Linked DNA regions of Homo sapiens: regions 1 and 2 are each linked to region 3. The links are contacts of gene promoters, found by promoter capture Hi-C in blood cells and fetal thymus (Javierre and others, 2016). All regions are on one chromosome and are shown on one strand. Each heading gives the region's core, a stretch centred on a gene start or on the middle of the fragment in contact. The rest is flanking DNA. Distances are from core to core; before and after follow the strand shown.

Region 1 (3,192 bases), core at 464-2,963, 680 kb after region 3:
GAGGGGCCTGGACCCTCTCTGGGATGTCTGATTAATAGCCAGTGCTCCAAAAAGCATTTCCCCATTTAGTTTATTGATTGAGACAAGGTCTCACTCTCTCACCTAGGCTGGAGTGCAGTGGCACGATCGCGGCTCACTGCAGTCTCAACTTCCTGGGCTCAAGTGATTCTCCCACATATTTTTGTAGAGACTGGGCTTCATCATGTTGCCCAGGCTGGTCTCGAACTCCTGGGCTAAGTGATCCTCCCAACTCAGCCTCCCAAGGTGCTAGGATTACAGGTGTGACCACTACACCTGGCCTTCCCCATTTGGTTTATTGAGTGACGACACCTGAAATTGCCACCATTTGAACTCTAGAACCTAGAGCTGGGGTGTAGATGGTCCCCTTACAAAGAAAACATTTCCAGGAGTGGAGGCATTCTGGATGCTCTGGCCTTCCGTAGGCTGGGATGTGGGACCCTGGAAGAACCCCTGCCCCAGCCCTGGAGGTCTCCATTGACATATGAGGGTGCTGATGTCATGATCCTGACATCAATGACCTGTAGCTCCTTATGCCCTTCCCCCACAACCTGAGCATGACCCAGGGAAATGAAAACTCATCCCCTGCTCCCCTCCCCATGCGGTGTCCAGTTCGCCTCCTGGAATCTCCTGGACCCTGGGGACCTGACCTTTTCCGTCTCCTAGCCCCTGGGTTCAGATTCTATGACTGTTTAGAACCCCACCCCCAGCCATCTATCCCCAGCTGACTTATTTACCTTCCTTTCTCCATCTCTGTCATGGGCTGTGATTATCCTGACCCCAGCCAGGCCTCTGGCCCAGCACTAGGTCCTCCCTGGTGTCTCAGTCTCCCATCAGCCCTACTGTCCCAGGAGGACCGCCTGAGATCCCCTGAATAGTACTGAGAGGGGGAACGGGCCACTGAGCTGCTCCCTCCAGTCCTGGCACACCCTGTAGCACAACTCCAGGGGACACGATTCGGAGTCGGAATACAGTGTGAATACTGCCTGGAGTTTGTGATGACTGGCATTGGAAACTGGCAGGGTGGGATGGCTGTAGTAGGGAGGGGGGCACTGAGTCACCTGTCCTGCTGGAGGGAAACTAACTACCCTGGCACAGAGAAGTGGTGCGGGGAGTAGGGGAGTGGAGGCAGGAGACGCCTCCTGGAGGATTTCACTAGGCCTTGAAGGATGTGCCGAAGCCCACCGTGTGGGCTTCCTTTATAGACTCACCTTCACCAGGCCTTTTCGCCAACTAGGTGAGGGTTTCCAGGGTTGGGCCTGGGCCTCGTCAACAAAGCAAAGTGAGGTTATTCTTCCTGGCCACCAACTGGCAGGAGGAAGATGAAGCCCAGAAAGGGGCAGAGGTGGCTCTAGTTACACTGGCAATGCTGAGAGGACCCAGAGGAGTATCTCAGTCTCCAGTCTCTTTATCTTGCTTCGCACAACTCCTTGCTTGGTTCAGAGCCTTGAAGAGGCGGATACAAGAGGCCCTCTGGGCACCGCCGCCCAGTCCCGCGCAGCCCCCTGCAGTTCCCAGGGGCGCGAGAGAGGGCGACGTAGAGCAGCACCGCCCAGCGGCAGAGCGGCGAGCCCCTCCGCGGCTCGGGGTGAGTCGGGCGCGGGGCGCAGACCGCGCTCTGACGTCGGGGGCGGAGCGGCCGTGACGCGCGGGGGCGGGTCTGCGCACCTTCCCGGCCCAGCCGGCGATTCATTCAAAAGGCGCGCAGGCTGCGCGGCTGTCCGGGCGCTCGCCGAGCCGGGCCGCGGCGCCGAGTCGAACGGGGAGCCGAGCTGGAGCTGCCGCGGCGCAGCCAGGTAAGGAGGGCGCGCGGAGCGCCCATCCAGAGTCTGCTCTCCGCGGCCGGGCCAGCGGGATACGGACCCTAGTGGCGCCCCCTGCCTCCCCGTGTCTCTGAGGAAGTTCGCGGGCTCGGCGGATGCGGCAGCCCGGCCGCGCGCCCCCCCACCCCACTCCTCCCGCCTCGCGTCCTGTCCCGGCGCCTTCCGCGCACCGGCCACCGCCAGTCTCCGAGCCCCGTGACCTGCAGGTCCTCCGGCCGCGACTCCGGGCCGGCCCTGCGTGGTGGCTGTCGGGGGGCGCGCGGGGAAGCAGCGGAACTTGCGGTGTGAGGGGCCGGCGGGGCCCGGAGCGGTCCCCGGCCCGGGAAACTTGGACCGAGACCAGGTTGTGGTGCGGGCTGGACGGCGGCGCCTCGGCGCGGCTGCGGCGCGGGGCGGCCAAGGGGGGGTCTGGATGGTGTCAGCCCGTGACTGTGGGTGACACGGCGCGTGAGGCGGCCTGGCCGGGCGAACGTGTGGCTGGGACACTGGGCGGTGACGCCGGGCCGAGCGGGCGACACAGAGGGGCTCTGTGTGTGGGAGACAGGCAGCGTGTGTGCGTGTGTTGTGTGAGGGAAAGACCCGGGGTCACTGGGGTCACGAAGTGCGTGGCTTGGGGCGTGACCGGCGCAGGGCCAGGGCCACCCGTTACTGTGAGTGTGAAATAGAGGGAGAGGAGCCCAAGTGACTGAGAACGAGCCGAGCTCGCTGGCGCCATGGTGTGCGTGTGGGGTCAAGTGGTGTCAGTGTGTGTGTGTGTGTGTGTGTGTCTGCGCCTAGGGTGATGATGAGTAAGAGGCAGGAGGAGGAGGGACCGGACCTAGGACACCTTCCGGCAGATGTGGGGCGATGAGGAAGTTGGGGAGCCAGGAGACAAGGGTCTCCAGGACTGTCCCCACGAGGGCACCCCTCAGGAGTTCAGCTTGGTGAGGAGATGGACCCTGAGGGATAGGCCCTGGCTGAGGGAGAAAGCCGAGGCTGGGCAACATCTGGTGGGGTGGCCCAGATGGCAGCAGGGTAGGGGCCCTGTGGTAGTCTCAGCTTCCCCCCGCCCACCTGCATCCACACACTCACGCATCGAAGTCCCTACACCTGGCAAAGTTCTGCCCCTGTGTAATCTGTATTCTCAGCGGACCCGGACACAATCTTGTTCTCAGACCCCCCCGCCCCCCTCCCCCGCGCAGGCCTCAGTCTCCCCATCTGCACACTGAGGTGCTGGGCTTTGAATGGACTGTGAATCATCACTTTGGGATCCTCTATTGTTTTGGGTCAACTGCCTGTGTTCTCCCTTCCCTTCAGGCAGAAAGACTGCAGTGGGGGGTGGGGGCAGGCTTCTCCTGGGGACACAGCGGCC
Region 2 (3,493 bases), core at 274-2,773, 530 kb after region 3:
TCACTAAGTCACCTGTGTGGTAGCTGAAACGCTGTATGTCTCAGGAATGCAGTTTCCTCAGCTGTAAAGTAAGGGAATTGGGCCAGAGCAGGGGCAGAGCCCTGGGCAGGCCACCAACCAGATTTGCCCGCTGAAGGCTAAGGTCGAGCCTGGGTCCTCAACTTGGCGTCAAAGAAACTTGTTTCTCCTGGGCTAAATGGCAGTGACAGTATAAGGTTTGAAGTTTTGGAAGAGGGGAGAGAAAGAGAGGGTTGGCTGGAGTTCCAGTGCCCAAAGGGTCTTCCCCACACTGGAACCTGAAGGCCTAGGCCCTATAACTCGGGCTATGAGGATACTTAGGTCCCTGGAAGGTGCGTGGCCCAGCTTAGACAATAGGCGCAGGAGGCTAGACAAGGGGCCTTTGTGTCTCCCAAGCAAAGGCCCCAGCAGGACTGCAGAGGCGGCTCAGCCACTATGGGCTGTGTGTCCACTCTGCTACTGCTCCTGGTGGGGCTGCAGCCAGCACCCTTCCTGGCAGCCAGGCCCAGTCAGCTGATATGGAGCCCAAGAGGGCCCAAGGCCCCGAAGGCCCGGGGCAAGTTCCTTGGCTACAGGAAGAGGCCTCCTCTGCACTTGTCCAGCCAGCGGAGCGATTGGCTCCATTTCACAGGAAAGAAGACCCTGCCAGGGAATGGAACTGGGTCAAGGTCTCCCAGAGTCAGTGCTGAAGCCAGACAGGAACCTACACTCCTGATTCCTAGACCAGAAATGAGAGAGAGGCGGGGTGCTCATTCATTCATCCATTCACACCTTCAAGGATTGAGCACCTCCCAGGACCTCTAGGACAGCAGCAGGAAGAAGGCAGACCTGGTTCCTGCCCTCGGGAGCTCACAGTCTCCGAACGGGTCAGACATGCAGCCGGTAGCCCGACCAGGGAAGGCCATTAGAGTGGGGTTGACGACAGAGAAGAGAGGTAAAGCAGCTCAAGATAAGGGGCCAGAGTGGGGAGTTCAGGGAGCTGCTGATAAGATTAAGGCAGGGAAAGTGGGGAGCACGGGAGAGGCGGGATCCTGAGTACCCTGCTTTCCTAACCACGGTAATGGAGAGAGGCACCCCCTTCCCCCACTTTCAAGCAAGGGAGGTACGTCCTTAGCCTGGGGTTCCGAGCAGGTATCTCCCAGTAGGTCCCTTCCTGGCCAGCCGGGCTGGGGCAGGGGCGGGACAGGGGTAGGGTGGCGCGGTGGCTGGGCGCAAAGGTCCCGCAGTGGGCCACGCAGGCACCGGGCTGACCTGGCAAAACTTTGGCGTCTCTGAAAACCTCTGGTAACCAGCTCCCTTCTAGCGTGAGGGAGCCGGGAGGCCTCCTTCTGGCCCGGCAGTGAGAGCGTCGCCGCCCGACCCTCCCGTTGCAGCACCGGTACAGACACGCTGACCCCGCGGCCTTGTCGCTGGGCGGCGTCCCGGAGCGGGTGGCGCGGTGTCTACCCGGGCGGGTTGAGGGCGGTGCCAGGGTCAGTCAAAAGTCCGCCCCGCCCCCTGCCTGGCCCGGCTTCGGGGTTGGGGAACAGCGCAGGGAGGTGGGTAGCCGGGCTCCCAGGCACGTGGGTCTCTGCGGCTGCGGCGGGACCCGGGCACTGGCACCCGGGAGCGGCGGCGACGGCACCCTGAGAGGAGAAGCGCAGCGCAGTGGCGAGAGGTGGGGTGGGGCGTCTGGAGGGAACAAGGCGCTGGGAGAGGCCCGGGGAAGCGGCGGGCCAGACTGGCGCAGGTGCGGACTGGGCGCGGGGCAGGGGAGGGCGCTGTGGAGCGGCTGTCGCCCCGGGGCACAGTTGCGAGCCGGCGTGTAGCGCATAACTGGACGGCTTGAACGCGCCTGTGGGTCCGTGGTTGAACTTTGTCTCCACGGGAGCGTCGGTCTCGGTGAGTGTGGACGGGCGCCCCAGTAGTGAGGCTGTGCGCGTCAGCGTACTGGGGAGGTCTGCGTGTTAGCGGGTGAGTGTGTGCGCCCCTCGGGGCGACTGGCCAAGCCTGCGGAACTTGTCTGTGTGTGCTCCGATGTGAGCGTCCCCGTGGCGTGAGGCGGTGGCCGGTGCCCAGAGACGCGAACCCCTGGAGACCCCCTACCACTGTCCTAACCCCAGGGTCACTCTGGGTGGCCACCTACCATTGGTAATGTTGAGGGGGCAGTTGCAGGGAGTGGGCGGGGGAGGAGGGAGTGGCCAGAAAGGACAGTTAAGCCTCTGTCCCCGGGCTTTTAATCTGGCAAATGGTGCGGTAGAAAGGGTCAGTCAGGAGAAAGGCGATACCCCACCCCCCAACCCGAAGGCTGCCAGTGGCCCTCTTGGGGTCCTCCAGGAGCGCAGCCCAAGGGTTGGGGACTGCTGGAGACCAGAATTGCCAGCTCGGGATTTGTGGGGTCCATGGCTGCTGTTCCTCTCAGCATGGCATCCCCAGCTTCCCAGGACCACAGCCTGATCTGCCTGGTTTGTTTTGGATCTAAGCTGAAATAATTATGAGTTTTGAGGATCTGGGTGGAGACCCAGGCAAGTTTATTACCTGTGGGTGGAAGTGGAAGGAAGAAGATTCTCTGAGCAGACAGGTCCACAAGAGAGCTCTGGAGACTCAGAGATCTATGTTCCAATCCTGTCTTGGCCACTGTGTGGCCTGGGCAAGCCGTCCTTTCTCTGAGCCTCAGTGGCCTCGTCTGTAAGAAGGGACTAATGATAAGGAATTTGAGGGCTGTTGAGGAGCTGATGAGTGTGTCATGTTCAGCACCAGTGTCCCCCCATGGGCAGGCTCACAGCTTGGGGATGGGAAGTCAGTCCCTGGAAGGAGCCTCCCAGAACCAGAATCCCAACTGTGCCCCTCCCTAGGGCACAAGCCTTCCACAGGACCAAGCCTGAACCCTGTAGCCTGGGACTTAAGGTATTTGATAACTGGGGCCTGCCAGCCTTTCCAGCCACCTCTCCCGCCTGACTCTTTACCTTGCAGCAGCTGCCTGGAGTCTCTCATTTCTTGCCCCTGGCCTGTTGCATATTCTACACTCCCTCTCTGATAAGCCCTCCTACTCTCACCTTCCTCAACTGGAGAACTACCCAGACTTGGGACCCAGCTCAGATGTCCTCTCCTCTGGAAAGCCTTCCTTGATCCCTACAGCTGGGTTGGAGCCTCTTCTAGGCCCCTACAGGCCTGGGGCTGACAGCCCTGGTCCCACCTGAACCGTCATGATCTATGTCTGTCTCCTCCTTTCCTCTTCCCAGGTCTAGGGGCTCCTGGAGGGCAGAAACTGGGTCTTATTATTTCTGTGTTGCCAGCACCCTGCACAGGGCTGAGCTGAACTGAGAGAGCAGCAGTGGCGCCCATCCCCTGTCTCTGGCACCAGCTTCTCCAGTAAAGGCCCGGCTGCAGGGGAGCTCCATGTCACTACAAAGAAGGGCAAACCAGAATCTGGTTATCAAAGTGGGTGGCACAGTTTGCCAGAACAGTGTGATCTGGGACACTGTAGGACCTAGAG
Region 3 (3,086 bases), core at 587-3,086:
GACGGCTCATGTTTCCAGCATCTCCAAGGCATGGGGCCATGGGCAGACAATGACGTTTACTCTTGATGCTTAAGGATCTCTGCTGGAACCAAGATCTTTCTAGCATGTGCCTTTTCCAGGTGCCTCAGGGTCTTTAACAAGAGGAGACCCCCAGGATAAGGCACAAGTGGACATATATCCTACTGAATCACCTGAGATTGTCCCAATTTCAAATATTCTGTCCTACTGCCGCATAAACCAACAAATGCCAGAGTTGATAACCCCGTGGTAACCAGCTCACATCTGCTCAGGGCCTCTGCCAGGCCAGAGGTGTTGGCTGTCTCTGGGGTGTGAAGAGCACCACCTACCCTGTGCTGAGCACCCCTCCCTGCTGAGTCCTCAAGTCTGAGACTTCCAGGAATACAAGCTTGCGTTTCCACACTAAGAAACCTGGGTGCAAGTCCCAGTCTACACTTATAGATGGCCTTGGGCAAGTCACACAAAGCCTGTTTTCTCACCTGGAAGTGGGGACAGCCCTCTTCCTCAGAGAACAGTAGTAAGGATTCCATGTCTCAGTATGTGAAGGGCCAGCACTAAGCCAGGTTCCTTAGGGAACATTAGATCTCATCCCTTTTTCTAGCTCTCCTGCCTCCTTCCTTCCATGCCCAGGGATCCACACGTCCCTTTCCAGGTACCTCAGCCATCTTCCCTCCCTTCTGCCCACAGTGAGGGTTCTAAACACTCCTAGAGGGAGGCGGCCAGGGAAATAGCATCCCAGAACCAAGGGGGATTGACTGGATGGGCAGATAGGCTCAGAAGTGAGGATGTGATCACAGAAGAGGGCAAAGGAGAGAAGAGACGGTGTTTCCCACAGGGTTAGCAGGAGCCCAGGATGCATTAGAGGAGGCACAAAATGCAAAGAGAAGGAGATGAGGTCCTGCTCTATCTGCTCTGCTCCTGCCATGGCAGCCAAGCCTGTTCAGATGACCTCAGGAAATGCAAGGGGCAGGAAGAGGCTGAAGACACTGGGGATGGGGTGGTGGGTAGCTGTGGGAGCTCAGGCTAGACCACCAGGCTTGGAACCATGTCTCTGTTGCCCATCCTGCAGGGCAGCAGTCCCCAGTCTTTTTGGTACCAGGGACCAGTTCTGTGGACAACAATTTTTCCATGGGTGGGGGGATGGTTTCGGGATAAAACTGTAAAACCTCAGATGTTCAGACATCAGATTCTCATAAGAAGCGCACAACCTAGATCCCTCGCTTGCACAGTTCACAGTAGGGTTCGCACTCTTACGAGAATCTAACGCCGCTGCTGACCTAACAGGAGGCAGAGCTCAGGCAGTAATGCTCACTCGCCCGATGTTCACCTCCTGTTGCACGGCCCTGTTCCCAACAGTTGGGGACCCCTGCTGCAGGGCATCTATGCTCTGTAGCCCCCAAGGCATAGCTGGGACCCATGGGGGCATCATGAGATGCAGATTCTCAGCAGAACCTGAGCAAGGACCTTTTCCAGACAGAAGTATCCCCCTAGGAACAGGGCAGCCCCAAGGGCGGAGGGATGAGCTCTCTCTCCTAGGAGTGTGCAGAGTGGAAATAGCCAGCCAGGAAGCCTCAGAGAGACTGCTACCCCAGGTGGGGGTATCCCACAAGCCTCTCTCGTCCCACCCCGGCATGTTAGGATCAGGGCAGTAGCAAGAACATTCTGACAGTCCTGGAACACTGTCCAGGGTTGGAAATAAGGTGGCTCCAGGGATGACAGGAGATGAAGATCAGGGCTCTAATTCAAACCTAGGTGCCATCATTACTGGCTCTTTAACTTCTACACTAAGTCCTTTGGAAAATTCTAGAGCATTGCACTGATAAGGAACCCTATATTGGGGAAAGGACCCTGGGACAGGATTAGGGATAAAGGGGAGGAGCTTAGGCCCCAGGATAGGGGCCAGTGCCAACGGGCAAGGGGGCAGGGATCCATGCCTGGAGATGGCCAGGAGCCCTGGCTGTCTCCCCATGCTCCCACCCAGCTCATTTGGCCCCCAGGTGGTGTAAGGCAGCTGGCAGTCAGCCCACAGCTACTCACGGTCTCAGGGGCCCCGCTCCACGGCCTCTGGCTCTGTTTGATAGAGGATCAGGGTTATGGAAGAAGTCCCAGGTCTAGAGCCAGGACAGCATGTGCAGTGATGTGTGGGGTTGGGGTGTGTGTATGGCATGTATGTGCAGAAGGTGGAGGGTGTCAAATGGAGTCTGGGTTGGGAGAACACCTGCATGTGGACAGAATGAGGGAGAAGGGTGGCCCGGGAGGCATATGACATACGATATGACAAGGCATGCATGCACAACTTGGGGCTGTCATCAAGTAACAGGTTCCTGTGGATGCAGTGATAAGGCACAGGCACAGTGAGACAGAGCATGGGCATGGAGTGGTGTGATGGCATCCGGGTGCCAGGGCTTAGTGGGGCTACAGGGCACACTAGAGTGGCCGTCCAGGGCCACAGCAGGAGGGGTCTTGAGAGTCTACAGTTCTCCCCCACTGCTGTGCCATCCTGAGAGCCTGTAACGGGAATATTTCCACTTGCAGACCAAGGGGAATCTCTGAGCACATTCAGGTGTACAGGTGCCCACCCTGGGGCAGAACCCAGCGGGGCCACTTACCCGGACCTCCTTGTAGAGCCGCAAGCAGCTGCTGTTGAGGATGAAGTAGCGATCGTGGAAGCCACCTGAGGGCAGGCCCAGGCCCAGGAGGCTGCGGTCCTCACGGAACTTCATCATGCCATGCTTGGTGTCACCGACACGGCTGGCTGGGGGGTGGGACTGGAGTGGGCACAGGCTGCACCAACCCCTACCCGGGGCTGGGTCCCAGGATGAAGGAAGCTGCCCCATCCTGCCCCAGCCTCTCCATAGAGGCCCACCCACTTGGCGCCCTCTGTCTGAGCTGTTCCTACCTGGCACCACCAGGTCCCACCCTGGCTCTGGAAGAGAGGACCACCCGGAGCCTGGCCACCCTGCAGGCACCACCTACCCAGGTACAGCAGCATGGCCTCCATGGCCTGGTGCTTCTTCACCACCAGGTGGCTGTCCGTGCCCAGCCCGTGCAGGATGGGCAGCACCTTC

Evidence for each region. Contacts are between HindIII fragments. The CHiCAGO score rates a contact against its expected background, and 5 or more counts as called.
Region 1: a contact is called between the fragment with the promoter of RELT here and a fragment that was not itself captured in region 3, in 1 of 17 cell types (neutrophils). The highest score is 5.0, in neutrophils.
Region 2: the fragment with the promoter of P2RY2 here is called in contact with a fragment that was not itself captured in region 3 in 1 of 17 cell types (neutrophils); the score reaches 6.3 in neutrophils.

The regions. Positions count from the first base shown.
Region 1 is chr11:73,374,686-73,377,877 of GRCh38, forward strand. RELT (RELT TNF receptor) reads left to right here and starts at 1,714. Exons shown (of 11, transcript NM_152222.2): 1 at 1,714-1,814. RefSeq lists silencers at 1,434-1,743, 1,774-2,063, 2,154-2,233 and an enhancer at 2,399-2,693. The HindIII fragment of the contact is 14,706 bases long and covers 1-3,192 here.
Region 2 is chr11:73,216,758-73,220,250 of GRCh38, forward strand. P2RY2 (purinergic receptor P2Y2) reads left to right here and starts at 1,524. Exons shown (of 3, transcript NM_002564.4): 1 at 1,524-1,675. LOC124902709 (a long non-coding RNA gene) reads right to left here and starts at 1,436. Exons shown (of 3, transcript XR_007062773.1): 1 at 1,270-1,436. RefSeq lists enhancers at 1,358-2,076, 2,077-2,795 and a silencer at 1,435-1,644. The HindIII fragment of the contact is 6,402 bases long and covers 1-3,493 here.
Region 3 is chr11:72,690,698-72,693,783 of GRCh38, forward strand. It overlaps ARAP1 (ArfGAP with RhoGAP domain, ankyrin repeat and PH domain 1), which reads right to left. Exons shown (of 35, transcript NM_001040118.3): 28 at 2,995-3,086; 29 at 2,628-2,773; 30 at 2,056-2,088. Among named protein-coding and RNA genes, the nearest start is that of ARAP1-AS2, 8.2 kb to the right of the region's middle. The HindIII fragment of the contact is 2,865 bases long and covers 405-3,086 here.